5 separate regions of the Homo sapiens genome follow, and all the other regions are linked to region 1. Evidence: promoter capture Hi-C in human tissues and cell types (Jung and others, 2019). All regions are on one chromosome and are shown on one strand. Each heading gives the region's core, a stretch centred on a gene start or on the middle of the fragment in contact. The rest is flanking DNA. Distances are from core to core; before and after follow the strand shown. Region 1 holds the start of PHYKPL (5-phosphohydroxy-L-lysine phospho-lyase). Region 2 overlaps LOC128966623 (a long non-coding RNA gene). Region 3 overlaps LOC128966623 (a long non-coding RNA gene). Region 4 has its middle 100 kb from the start of ADAMTS2. Region 5 has its middle 16 kb from the start of RNF130.

Evidence for each region. The method cuts DNA at HindIII sites, captures the fragments that hold promoters and counts their contacts. A contact is called where the count stands out against the background at its distance.
Region 2: a fragment that was not itself captured here is called in contact with the fragment with the promoter of PHYKPL in region 1 in 1 of the 25 tissues and cell types used here (lymphoblastoid cells).
Region 3: a fragment that was not itself captured here is called in contact with the fragment with the promoter of PHYKPL in region 1 in 2 of the 25 tissues and cell types used here (mesendoderm cells and pancreas).
Region 4: a fragment that was not itself captured here is called in contact with the fragment with the promoter of PHYKPL in region 1 in 2 of the 25 tissues and cell types used here (IMR-90 fibroblasts and lymphoblastoid cells).
Region 5: a contact is called between a fragment that was not itself captured here and the fragment with the promoter of PHYKPL in region 1, in 1 of the 25 tissues and cell types used here (lymphoblastoid cells).

What each region holds. Positions count from the first base shown.
Region 1 is chr5:178,231,533-178,234,232 of GRCh38, forward strand. It overlaps PHYKPL (5-phosphohydroxy-L-lysine phospho-lyase), which reads right to left and starts at 1,270. Exons shown (of 13, transcript NM_153373.4): 1 at 960-1,270. The coding sequence starts at 1,018. LOC112267937 (a long non-coding RNA gene) reads left to right here and starts at 2,506. Exons shown (of 3, transcript XR_002956238.2): 1 at 2,506-2,700. RefSeq lists silencers at 695-1,014, 1,095-1,504 and an enhancer at 894-1,432. The HindIII fragment of the contact is 15,074 bases long and covers 1-2,700 here.
Region 2 is chr5:179,611,428-179,614,166 of GRCh38, forward strand. All of the region lies in intron 4 of LOC128966623 (a long non-coding RNA gene), which reads left to right. Among named protein-coding and RNA genes, the nearest start is that of RUFY1-AS1, 9.1 kb to the left of the region's middle. RefSeq lists an enhancer at 2,401-2,460. The HindIII fragment of the contact is 3,640 bases long and covers 1-2,739 here.
Region 3 is chr5:179,531,322-179,534,021 of GRCh38, forward strand. The region is part of intron 4 of LOC128966623 (a long non-coding RNA gene); the gene reads left to right. Among named protein-coding and RNA genes, the nearest start is that of RUFY1, 18 kb to the right of the region's middle. The HindIII fragment of the contact is 7,886 bases long and covers 1-2,700 here.
Region 4 is chr5:179,444,770-179,447,469 of GRCh38, forward strand. No RefSeq gene overlaps it. Among named protein-coding and RNA genes, the nearest start is that of ADAMTS2, 100 kb to the left of the region's middle. The HindIII fragment of the contact is 3,174 bases long and covers 1-2,700 here.
Region 5 is chr5:180,086,052-180,088,751 of GRCh38, forward strand. It overlaps the pseudogene LOC646058. Among named protein-coding and RNA genes, the nearest start is that of RNF130, 16 kb to the left of the region's middle. The HindIII fragment of the contact is 7,253 bases long and covers 1-2,700 here.

The DNA.
Region 1 (2,700 bases), core at 20-2,519:
CAGGCAAGGAGTGGACAGCCATGTCTGAAGACCGAAAGGGTGAAGTCTACTCATCGCAGACCCCCGCCCACCCCTTCCCAGTTTCTGGTGGCGGGGGGGAAATGAGAGCTGGAAGGGCAAGGTGCTGCTTCCCTGCCTTGTCTCTCCACTCCACAGGTGGTTGCAAAGCAGGAAGCAGATGGGGTAACAAGTCGCTGAAACTTCGGATTGTTTCTGAAAGCATTTTCAGCCTCTGTGGCCTCCTTGCTCATTTCTGCATGTGTCCGCGTCAGTCTCCCGGATCCTGAGAAAAGGTGGCTGCCCCGTCCCATGGGGACTCCATAAGGCCGCGTGTCTTCGATGGGATGGGCCAGGGCACCAACATTAGGTGCCTGGCTCTCAGCCCTAAACAGCTCCTTGCCAGCCACGTGGCCCTGCTGCCCCTCGCTGGGTGCCAGCCCTAAGCTCCAGTGGGAGGCGACCTCACCCACCGTCCCACCGAGGGCCCCCTCACAGGTCAAGTGTGCTGCCTGTGAACCGACTCCCCCGACTCTCCCTTGTCTGCCCTTTCAGCCCCCTCCCAGGTCACTCTCGAGCCAGGCCCAGGTGCTGCTGACGGGCCACCCTGGGTGAGGTCCTCTCAGGCGCCAGGGTGAAGGTCTTCTCCGGAGTAAAGGCTGCCAAGCGAGGCTGACACAGCCGAACAGCGGTGAGGGCGGGGCCGTCTCCTGAACTGGGCGGCCTGGAGACGGCGCTGTCGGGGAGGCGGCCCCGGAGACCACCCGCCGGGACTGCCCAACGGCGCCGCCCGCCTCGGGCCCTAGAAGCTCCAGCGGGGCCGGGGCAGCGGCCGGACGGGATGGGTAGCAGCGGCTTCCTAGCCGGAGGCGCGTGCGTAGTGCGTGCGTGCGTGCGTCGTGCGTGCGCGTGCCTCTCCGCGCAGCCCCGCGCCCCCCGCCGCCCGCCCCCCGCCCGGGTACCTGATGAGCCGTTGCCTCAGGGCCAGCGTGTCGGCCTTCGGGCGCTGGTCTGCGGCCATGGTGGGTGGCCGTCAGTCGGTGCCGTGACGCCACGCGGAGACGTCGCCGCGCGGGCTGGGCCTCCAAGGCCCCGCTCCGGGCCCCGCCCCTGCCTGGGTCGGGATTTGGGGCTCAGGTTCGCACTCGGCCCCGCCCCGAAGCGCCCGCGTTGCGGTGGTTCATTTCTTCGCTTGCCCACTGGGCCTGGCAGCCTTCCGGCCCGTGGTCGTGCCTTGGCAGTCCCGCGCAGGAACTCGAGCGCTGCCCCGTCTCTGGTTCCGGGACGCGCCCCGGGCCTCGCCCCGCAGGCCCCGCCCCGCAGGCCCCTGCGGCCTCCCTTCCGGGAAAGGGTCCCGGACGACCCCGCCCCTGCTCCCGGCGCCCAGGCGGGGCTCGGAGCTCCTGCAGGCCTTCTCTGGGCCAGACTCAGTCTTTGAGTCGCCTTGTGCATAAAATGGGATGAACTGTGAGGCCTAAGTGCGAGTATGTGACTGGTACCTTACCCGGGCCTGGTACACAGTAGGGGCCTCAGGGTGGGAGAAGCAGGTCCTAGGTTTTCCCAGCCCCATGAAGGGGCAGCAGGAAGAGCAGAAGGAGAGCCCAGGGTCCCTTCTGGGGCTGACCAAGGAGATCACCATGGGCTTGACCTTCAGGGCACCATAGTTCCTGCTAGAATCTAGGCAGGGTGAACCGGACGAGCTGTATCGTCGCTGAGAGAATCATGCAGCGTTTGGGCAAGAAGAGAGGTTGGGAATCCTCCTTGTGGTACATGTCGGTGACCCTGAAGCCCAGAAAGGGAAAGGGTTTTGTTGTCAGACACGCAGCAAGGCTGCAGAGGCTGGACTCCTACTGAGGTCTTCTTGACTCCCAGCCCAGGGAGTGAGAAGAAAAAGCCTCCCAAGGGGCTGGGATATGAGAGAAAAGCCCCCTCCTGGGGTGAGGCACTGGGGCTTTCTGCCTTGAAGAACCCTGGAACACGGGCCTGGGACTGCAGCAGGTGCAGGGGAGGCTCCTGATTGTCCCTTCTTTCTGTCCACATCATGATTCCCAGGCCTCTGCTTCACTCCCTCATTGCTGATTTCTTCTTCTCTTCCCAATACAGTTGTAAGATGCATAAGGCATTTATTGAACTCTTGACCTCAGATGATCTGCCTGCCTCGGCCTCCCAGAGTGCTGGGATTACAGGCCGGGTGAGCCACCGCACCCGGCCGCTTAAGGCATTTATTAAAGAACATTTGGAGTTTCTTTTTTCTTTATTGTGTAAAATATACATAACAAAATTTTACCATTTTAACCATTTTTAAGGATACAATTCAGTGGCAAAAGTACATTCACATCGTCGTGCAGCCATCACCACCATCCATGCAACAGGACTTTTTCATCTTCCCTAAAAGAATGGAATTTCTTATTTTTAACTGTAAAGCTGAATTGAATATTTTACATGATTTTTGGAAAAAATTCTTCCCAAATTAACTGCGAGGTTAACTGCTTGTGGCCTGTATTTTTTTTTTTTTTTAAAGAAAGGGTCTTATTCTGTTGTTCAGGCTGGAGTGCAGCATTGCAGTCTCTACCTCCCTGGGATCATGTGATCCTCCCATCTCAGCCTCTCAAGTACCTGCTACTACAGGTGCACGCCACCATACCCAGCCTGTACTTCGTTTCTGAGGATCAAGACCTCACAGACCGTGTGTGTGTGTGTGTA
Region 2 (2,739 bases), core at 56-2,555, 1.4 Mb after region 1:
ATAAGATTCCAAAGAACCATAATGCTTCTAGACTTTTTTTTGAGACAGGAATTTCGCTCGTTACCCAGACTAGAGTGCAATGGCACGATCTTGGCTCACTGCAACCTCTGCCTCAGTAACTGGTATTATAAGCGTGCACCACCATGCCCAGCTAATTTTTGTATTTTTTAGCAGAGACAGGGTTTCACCATGTTGGCCAGGCTGGTCTCGAACTCCTGACCTCAGGTGATCCACCCACCTCAGCCTCCCAAAGTGTTGAAATCACAGGCGTTAGCCACCGCCCCTGCCCTAGACTAGCCGTATGGCTCTGGATTTAGTTTAACCTTACTCCAAGTTTCTAGTTCTACTCCCTTCTCTAACAGGGCAAGCTTTATCCTTAAATGTACCACAGTTAACTAAAGAACCCAGAGAAGGGACCTTCAATCTTTCTCAATACTGGGCCTCAGTACCAAACTATTAACGCAAGATCTCAAGGGCAGTAACCAAGCTTAGAACACAGCTCAACAACTCTCAACACTGCCTCCCCCGACAACTGCTGTTCTCTAGACCTGCCAAAGACAAAACCAACAATACACATTCCAGACCCTTCCCTCTGCTAGTGTCCAGTCCTGGTAGGGGCAAGCAAGGTAGATCTGCAAAGCCCTCCCCTCCATGTCTCCTGCATGCACTGCTCCTGTGGGCAGATGGTTAGAAATGACCGATACTAAGCCACTCTGTCCACCCTACCTAGCTCTACCCCAACAACAAACTCAAGAAAAGCTCGTGTAATCGCAGAAAAGAGAAAGCTTATCCACACTTCGCTTTAAAGGGCGGCCGGGCGCGGTGGCTCACGCCTGTAATCCCAGCACTTTGGGAGGCCGAGGCGGGCGGATCACGAGGTCAGGAGATCGAGACCATCCCGGCTAAAACGGTGAAACCCCGTCTCTACTAAAAATACAAAAAAAAATTAGCCGGGCGTAGTGGCGGGCGCCTGTAGTCCCAGCTACTTGGGAGGCTGAGGAAGGAGAATGGCGTGAACCCGGTAGGCGGAGCTTGCAGTGAGCCGAGATCCCGCCACTGCACTCCAGCCTGGGCGATAGAGCGAGACTCCGTCTCAAAAAAAAAAAAAAAAAAAAGGCACAAGCCTATGTGACAGCCTAGTTCAGACACTACATTCTAATTTCATTATCAGGGACTTGAATCTAATGGGATGAAAGTAGTAGCGGCAGTTCCCACACTGCAGCACCCCTGAGCATCTGCTGAAGGAACCCCGGGAGCGTGCTTTTCAGGACTGCTTTTGTGATACCCAACCTTGTATTAACACGAATAGACTCTCCCTTACATGCCTAACCTTGTTTTTAATATGAAGACTCCCTTCGCTGAGAAAACCAGGCCAACTCCATTTGGCTCCTTCATTTACAAGACATCAAGGGCTCCTTACCCACCCCCCTTTCCTCAAGGACTTTAACTTGTGCAAGCTCTCAACGTATCAAAGAGTGCAGTTAACTGATAAGGTGCTGAGGCAAGCGATGTCCAGTTCCCAGCAATTTACTCAGAGATGGTACCATCAAGCCCCCATGTTTGTCCGGTAGATAACACCCAGAGCCCCCTCACCTGTCACTTTGTGATGAATTTGAAGCTCCTGCACCTGGAACTGTTTTCCTGTAACCATTTGTCTTTAACTTTTTTGTCTGTTTTTCTTCCCTAAGATGGCTGCAGCTAGAATCCCCCTCCCCTCTCCAAACCAAAGTATAAAAGAAAATCTAGCTCCTTCTTCGAGGCCGAGATACTTTCATGCGGTAGCCGTCTCTCGGTCGCCGGCTAATAAAGGACTCCTGAACTCGTCTCCAAGTGTGGCGTTTCTAACTCGCTCAGGTACACCACTTGGAAGCAGCTTGAATACTTGCTATCATCATGTTGGAGCTTCGAACTACCAAAACGTGATATATTTAAGAGTTCATTTAAACTTCTCATGTTAGCTCTCAATCTCTACCTATCGTTCTACCTTAGGAGACTTACATGGAATTTTGCTTCCAAGTGGAATTGATTTTTAGGAATGACCCAAAAATACAGAAGTTCAAAACTTCCATTTGAAAACCATCTGTGAAGGCTGGGCAATGGCTCCAGCCTATAATCCCAGCACTTTCAGAGGCCGAGGTGGGCAGATCTCATGAGGTCAGGAGTTGGAGACCAGCCTGGCCAACATCGTGAAACCCCGTGTCTACTAAACATACAAAAAAAATTAGCCTGGAGTGGTGGTGGGCGCCTGTAACCCCAACTACTTGGGAGGCTGAGGCAGAAGCCCACAAGGTGGAGGTTGCAGGTGAGCTGAGATCACGCCACTGCAATCCAGCCTGAGACAACAGAATATAACTCTGCCTCAAAAAAAAAAACAAACCTATGAGCTTATGAGCTAGAAGAAACCCACATATTCATCACACCTCCCTTGCCTCCGGCACCTTCCCAGCCAAGCATGAAGGCCTCAAAGACATGCAGGCATGCAGTGAGGGCACTGGCGCCTCCCCCTTTGTTTTGTGCAAGTGCTTAATGAGTTACAGGCAGTTCAGATCAGGTCCTGTGCAGCCAAATGACATACAGCCCTTCCACCAGGGCCCCAAAGACGAGTTTACCTTCAGTTGCACTGGAGGGAAGACTGAAGACATCTACGCAACAGCCTCAACTGCCAAGCCAGAGATGTGGCCCTAGGCCCCAGGTGGGCACAGAGCACCAAGACTCAGTCCACATGACACTGAAGCACAG
Region 3 (2,700 bases), core at 152-2,651, 1.3 Mb after region 1:
AAATCAGATAAGGTTAACATAAAAATAAAATTATAAAACCATTTTTTACTTATGATCACTGATATAAAACAAAATATAGCTAACAGAATCAAATAGTATATATATAAATTTATCATATTGTATTTAAGATCTTTATTTTTCTAACATTCTTGGTCCTATGAAAACATTTCAGTATACAACATCAGAGAAAAACCATCATAATCTATATGCCAGTCATCACAATCGACATGGTATAATTTTTAAAAATAAACTATCTTGCCCTGTAGATGTATATATACAGCAGTCCCTCTGTATCCACAGGGGATTCGTTCCAGGACCCTCCCCCCAAAATCCACAATGCTCAAGTCCCTTATATAAAGTAGCATTGTACTGTCAGTCCCCAATTTATGATGGCTTCAATTGGGATTTGACTTGCCAATGGTGCAAAAGCAATGGGCATTCAGAACGCTTCTCATCTTACAATAGGGTTACATCTGGATAAACCCATTGTAAATTCAACTCGCCATATGGTCAATCTATACGATGGATGTATTTGGTTGTAACCCCATCATAAGTCAAGGAGCATCTGTATTTGCGTATAACCTATAACCTATGCACATCCTCTGTCCCAGGTTAATTATTTAGAGGTATAATTTAAATCACCTCTAAATTTTATTTTATTTTATTTTATTTTTGAGATGGAGTCTTGCTCTGTCGCCCAGGCTGGAGTGCAGTGGTGTGATCTCGGCTCACTGCAAGCTCTGCCTCCCGGCTTCACGCCATTCTCCTGCCTCAGCCTCCCGAGTAGCTGGGACTACAGGCGCCTGTAACCACACCCAGCTAATTTTTTGTATTTTTAGTGGAGACGGGGTTTCACTGTGTTAGCCAGGATGGTCTCGATCTCCTGACCTCGTGATCTGCCCGTCTCGGCCTCCCGAAGTGCTGGGGTTACAGGCGTGAACCACCATGCCCGGCCCAATCACCTCTAAATTATTTACACTACTAGTTAATACAATGTAAATGCTATGTAAATAGCTGTTGGGGCCAAGCATGGTGGCTCACTCCTGTAATCCCAACACTTTGGGAGGCTGAGGCAGGAGGATTACTTGAGCCCAGGAGTTCGAGACCAGCCTGTGGTCCCAGCTACTCAGGAGGCTGAAGTGGGAGGCTCACTTGAGCTCAGGAAGTTGTGGCTGCAGTGAGCTGTGATGGTACCACTGCACTCAAGCCTAGGCAACAAAGCAAGACTGTCTCAAAAAAAAAGTTGTTGTATTGATTTTTTTATTTATATTATTTTTTCTTGTTTTTTTTTTATTGCTTTTGTTTTTCAAATACTTTTGATCCACGGTTGATTGAAACCACAGATGTAAAACCCCAGGATACGAGGGGCCAACTGCATATAAAATCAAGTAAAACTTAGCTTAGGAATATAAGAATTTTTCTTTTTTATAGTATGTGTGTATATATATGTATATATGTGTGTCTATATAGGTATACATGTGTGTGTATATGTATATATACACACATATATATATATATATATTTTTTTTTTTTTTTAAATAGGGATGAGGTCTCACTATGTTGCCCAGGCTGGTCTCAAACTCCTGAGCTCAAGCGATCCTCCTGCTTCAGACTCCCGGAGTCCTGGGAAGAATTTTTCAACATCAAAAAATCTATTAACATGAGCTACCACAGTAAAAAGAAAAAAAACATATAATTATCTCAGTCTATTCAGAAAGAAATTTGATAAGATTTAAAGCCTACTTATGATTTTTTCCCTCTTAACTAATTAAGACTGGAAGAAACTTTCTCAACTAGTAAATTTCATATACCAAAAGCTTACATCAAAATTTTACTTGAGGAAGAAAATTGCAAAGATCCTTAATTAATTAATCCTTTAAGTCAGGATTAATTAACACAAAAATACTCAGTAATCCCCTGTGGTTTAACACAGAACTGCATTCTCCTGGTCAATGCCCTAAGGAAAGAAAAAGAAAGAAAAGATGTAAGGATTGGAAGATGAGAGAAAATTGTCATAATTCGAAGATGATATCACCGTCTACCTAGAAAGAAACCGCCGGCTGGGCGCGGTGGCTCAGGCCTCTAATCCCAGCACTTTGGGAGGAAGAGGCAGGTGGATCACTCAAGGTCAGAAGTTTGACATCAGCCTGGCCAACATAGTGAAACCCACTCTCTCGCTACGAAAAATACAAAAATTAGCTGGGCGTGGTGGTGCATGCCTGTAATCTCAGCTATTCAGGAGGCAAGGCAGGAGAATCACTTGAACCTGGGAGGCGGAGGTTGCAGTGAGCTGAGATCATTCCACTACACTCCAACCTGGGGGACAGAGTGAGACTCCCTCTCAAAAAAGAAAAAGAAAAAAGAAAAAAAGGAAACCAGCTGGGTGTGGTGGCTCATGCCTGTAATCCCATCACTTTGGGAGGCCGAGGTGGGCAGATTACTTGATGTCAGAAGTTCGAAACCAGCCTGGCCACATGGTGAAACCCCGTCTCTACTAAAAATATTGTAAAAATTAGCTGGGCATGGCGGCAGGCACCTGTAATCCCAGCTACTCAGGAGGCTGAGGCAGGAGAATCACTTAAACCTGGGAGGTGGAGGTTGCAGTGAGCCGAGATCATGTCCAGCCTGGGTGACGAAACGAGACTCTGTCTAAAAAAATTAATGAATTAATTAAAATAAAATAGTCAAACTCACAGAAGC
Region 4 (2,700 bases), core at 24-2,523, 1.2 Mb after region 1:
TGAATCCAGAGTGATAAACTTTTGTTCTCTGCTCCATCAAAACTCATTCATTTTTCTTGGACTTTGAATGGATCTTTTGCCCATGCATGTTTGCATGGGCATGGAACCATCAGGACTGGGATTTCATCTTACTCTACTACAAACTAATCCATTAACTTGTTACTGTTGCGTGGATGCTGGCAAAAGAGATGAGATTCCTGTGTCAGAGACAAAGGACTTTATTATTGCTGCTCACACAGCAAGCAGAGCGGGCACCAGCCTGTTTTGCACTTGTTCCCTCTGTCCCCCAAGTCCTGCAGAGGTGATGCAGAGGAGCTGAGATAGATGCTACACACACAGTTGGTTTGTGCTGTAGCTGAGGAACCCTGAGCTTGGGGACTCGTCTGTTTTGTAGCATGCAGTAAGTAAGCCTGCTGTTTGTCCCAGAGGGAGACAGTATCTCATTCCTCAAGGCTGCTCACTATAAGCATAAATCTTAGAAATACTTTGGATGGACCAGGCACAGTGGCTCATGCCTTTAATCCCAGCACTTTGGGAGGTGGGCGGATCACTTGAGGTCAGGAGTTCAAGACCAGCCTGGCCAACATGGTGAAACCCCATATCTAGTAAAAATACAAAAATTAGCCGGGCTTGCTGGTGTGCGCCTGTAATCCCAGCTACTTGAGAGGCTGAGACAGAAGAATCACTTGAACCAGGGAGGCAGAGGTGGCAGTGAGCTGAGATCATGCCACTGCACTCCAGCCTCAGAGACAAAGTGAGACTGTCTCAAATAAATAAACAAATAAATAAATTAGCTGAGCGTGGTGGCAGGTGCCCGAAGTCCCAGCTACTCTGGAGATTGAAGCAGGAGAACTGCATGAACCCAGGAGGCGGAAGTTGCAGTGAGCCGAGATCATGCCATTGCATTCCAGCATGGGGGACAGAGTGAGACTCTGTCTCAAAAAAAAAAAAGAAAGAAATAGTTTGGATAAAAAGAGTGCTCAAGCTTTGCATTCTTGGCACACCCAGCAAGACCTGTAGGAGTGTGAGAGATCCACAGAGGATGATTGTTTTTTCCTGGCGGAAATATCATGCATTGGTCATTTGGAAAATTTTGGTTCACTGAGTTATGTAGATCCTCCAAATGTTGACACATGTCTTTGCACAATATCAAAAACCACATTTATTAACATCATCATTAATCTCATCAGAAAAGTCTTTAGGTACCGACAAACCAGCAAGCTTACAGTGGCAGACACAGGTTTGCCAAAATTCTAATTTTTGCTTGAAAGCCCAAATTTCATCTTGAGGAATGAGCTCAAATTTTATCTTTAGGAGTTGTTTAAAAATAACTGTTCCGTGCTGTCAGTTATTTTCCTTGAAGAGATATGCTTACTTTGCTGGTTTTCAATAGAATGTCCTCCAAATATCCAAGTCTGAATAACCATCGTATGACCGTTGACCAACCCTCCAGGTAGAAATTGTATTCCCTGAGAAAAGGGGCTAGTTCAGCTTGCAACTCAAACAATCGCACACGTGCTTTTCTTTGAGACAAACGTAGTTGAGAACGTAGCAGAAATGTTTCCTACTTCCCACTTCATGACACAAAACACTAAAAAGACACGTGCCCAGAGGTCAAGATTTTTAAAAACTAATAAATTTTACTTTGCTATCAGGGACATTCTTGCTGGACACAGTGGCTCACACCTCTAATGGCAGAACTTTGAGATGTTCAAGTAAGAGGATCACTTGAGCCCAGGAGTTCCAGGCCAGCCTGGGCAGCAAAGGGAGACCCTGTCTCTCCAAAAAAAGTAATAAACAGGCATAGTGGCACATGCCTGTGGTCTCAGCTACTTGGGAGGCTCTGGCAGGAAGATCGCTGGGGCACAGGACGTGGAGGCTGCAACGAGCCAGGATCCCATCACTACACTCCAGCATGGAAAACATAGTGAGATCCCGTCTTAACAACACAAGAAAACAAAAAAACCCAGCACGTTCTTAAGTAAAGTCATTTTTTTTGTGGCTCTGGGAGTGTAGAGCAGTAAGGAACACAGAGCTGGCACATCGGGGATCCACTGCCTTGATCTGAATTAGTTTTACCCACGGTCATTTTGTACCTTTTACACTAAATGTCAACATGATGAAAAGGGCAAATAATGTCTTAACAGTCACATGAAAATACTTTTACTTCACAGACCTCTGAATAAGTCGTGGGAGCCCTCGGGTCCTGCAGACCACAAGGGAGGAGCGACTGATGTTCACTTTGGAGACCCGGGCTTCTGATTGCACCCTTGCCCCAGGCCCTGTGAACTCCAGGAAAGGATCTTCCAGGGACACAGACAACAGAACAAAATACTTGTTTGTCTTCAAGGACTTCAGGGTCTTCAGCATGTTCAAACCCACAGGTGCCTTCGGGGACCAAGAGGCAGAGAGATGGGAGGAGCGGCTGGGTGGGGCCCGGGCAGAGCGGAGGACACAGGTGTGAATTTGTGCGCAGCCGCTGCTCCCTCCGGCCAGCCGTGGCCAAGTGGACATTCGGACCCAGAGCGGCCAGATCTTGTAATTTCCAAGAAAGCCAGAAACCCAGATTTTTATATAAAATTTCTGAAATGTTGAAAGTTGGCAACTAATTGTCTTTTTTTTTCCTTTGAGTCGGAGTCTCGCTCCGTCGCCCAGGCTGGAGTGCAGTGGCACAATCTCGGCTCACTGCAAGCTCCGCCT
Region 5 (2,700 bases), core at 83-2,582, 1.9 Mb after region 1:
TTTATCTGCTGGAACAGCCAAGCCTGCACCATGAAAGGCCTTCGTCACAACTTTCTTATCGGTTTCATCTTCGTGGTTGTCTGTTCCAGTGAGGACCCCATTTCTCTGGCTGCTTCTGCGAGTTTTTCATCTATGTTTTTCAAGAGATTAGTTTTTTTTTTTTTTTTTTTGAGGCAGAGTTTTGCTGTTGTTGCCCAGGCTGGAGTGCAATGGCACGATCTTGGCTCACTGCAACTTCCACCTCCCGGGTTCAAGCGATTCTCCTGCCTCAGCCTCCCGAGTAGCTGGGATTACAGGCATGCGCCACCACGCCCGGCTAATTTTGTATTTTTAGTAGAGATGGGGTTTCTCCATGTTGGTCAGGCTGGTCTCAAACTCCCTACCTCAGGTGATCCACCCGCCTCGGCCTCCCAAAGTGCTGGGATTACAGGCGTGAGCCACTGCACCCGGCCTAGTTTTCTTTTTATGCGTTACTTCTTTAAGTTTTTTCATCAAAAATAATTTGACTGCCACAAATACATTATCTCCATTTGGAACAATTGTACACTTTTTCTTTGCTTCATTTATACCAACATATGCAGGAAGTTCATCAGAAGAATCCCTGAAATACCCCATGTGGTACTGAGTTTTATTATCTCCAATAATGACGGTCTGGAACTCAGGAGGATCATGGTAAAACCTCCAATGAAGGCTAACATTCAGGCCTGTTGAATTTTTCTTAATTTTATGTTTTCCAGCAAGGATATCATAAGGACCACCTAACTGAAGTCCGAGGCTTGCAGAAAGTGATCAGCTGGCTTTTCAGGATCAAGTTCTTCAAAGAACTTCCAGAAACGATCGGAATCTTCAGGTGAAGAGAGCTTATAATGATTTTCTACTTCTTGTCGAAGACCACATCAGCTTCATAGAATTTACTTTTCTTCACATTAACCATTTTTTCACAGGCCCCTCCCCGCTGGGCTTGCACTTCCTCCCACCGCCGACCATTCTGCAGCCGCAGTGCCTTTTTTTTTTTTTTTTTACACAGGATCTGGCTCTGCTGCCCAGGCTGGAGGGCAGTGGCACAATCATAGCTCACTGCAGCCTCAAACTCCCAGGCTCAAGCCATGCTCCTGACCCAGCCTTCTGAGTAGATAAGGCTACAGCCACGCCCCACCATGCCTGGATGCTTTTTCGTTGTTGTTGAGACACGGTCTTGCTATGCTGCCCAGGCTGGCCTGGAACTCCTGGCCTCAAGTGATCCTCCCACCTCAGCCTCCCAAAGCATTCAGGTTACAAGTGTGAGCCACTGTGCCTGGCCTTCTCTTCCTTTTCTCTCCCATTTCACCCTCTTCCTCCCCTACCACTCTGTTCTTCCATCACCTGTTTTCTTTTACCCTCTCCTGCTTTCTGACTCCACCCCACACAGGTTTCATCAGTTAATTTTAAATAAACCTTAGCATTGGCTATACAGGTTGGGCAGATGACTATACCTCTTTAAACCTCAACTTTTTAATCCTTAAAATGGGAGAATCGGCCAGGCGCAGTGGCTCACGCCTGTAATCCCAGCACTTTGGGAGGCTGAGGTGGGCGGATCACCCAAGGTCAGGAGTTTGAGACCGGCCTGACCAGCATAGTGAAACCCTGTCTCCACTAAAAAATACAAAAAAATAATTACCCGGGCATGGTGGTGGGCACCTGTAATCCCAGCTACTCGGGAGGCTGAGGCAGGAGAATCCTTTGAATCCAGGAGGCAGAGGTTGCAGTGAGCCGAAATTGCACCACTGCACTCCAGCCTGAGCAACAGAGCAAGACTCCATCTCAAAAAAATAAAAAATAAAATAAAATAAATGGGAGAATTAACATTCGTCGTAATTAGGGAGGTTAAATATTACATTTTGGATTCTGAAGCTGGCCAAGATGAAGTAAGAGACCACTACAATCCATCCATGCCGCTGTCTAGGGACAAAATCAACAAGTCACTAGCTAAGGACTCTGCAGTGTTAACAATAGCAGGTGGATAGGAGAGAAGAGCTGAAACTTGAAGAATGACCTATTCAAGGGCAAGTTTCCCAGTTGCTTTTTCTTTCTTGTCTCCCAGTTTTGAACTGAGGTCAGCCCCAGTATAGAACAGTGCAGCATGTATGGGCAGAAAAAACTTCAAGAGAACCATCTGTGAGTGGAAAAAACACAAACCGTTTTTCCTCTGCTCCCACGCCACAGTAAGCAACACAGAAGGCTTCGGTGACCAAATGTTGGGGGTTTCTCCCCACACATCAGCAAGCAAGCAACCAATTCTGCATTAGGCACCAGCTGGGTGTCCTCTATATTCTAATGCTATCTACCTGGAGAGAGCGTCAGAGCCCACAGGGTGGGGCTCAGTCCCCAAGACTGCCTCCACTTCTGATGCCACTCCCAAGTCAGGGCCTCAGGAACTTCTGAGGGACCGGCTTCAAGTTGGGGTTCCCATGACGCCCTCCTTGCGTTCAATTAATTTGCGAGAGTGGCTCACAGAACTCGGGGACACACTTACATTTGCTGGTTTATTATAAAGGGTATTGGGAAGAATACAGATGAAGAGATGCCTGGGCAAGGCATGGGGAAAGGGGCACGAAGGTTCTACCCCTCCCTGGGCACGCGGCCCTCCAGGAACCTCCATGTGTTCAGCTATCCTGGAGGTTATACGGAGGCTTCATTTCTTGGGCGTGGCTGGTGAAATCA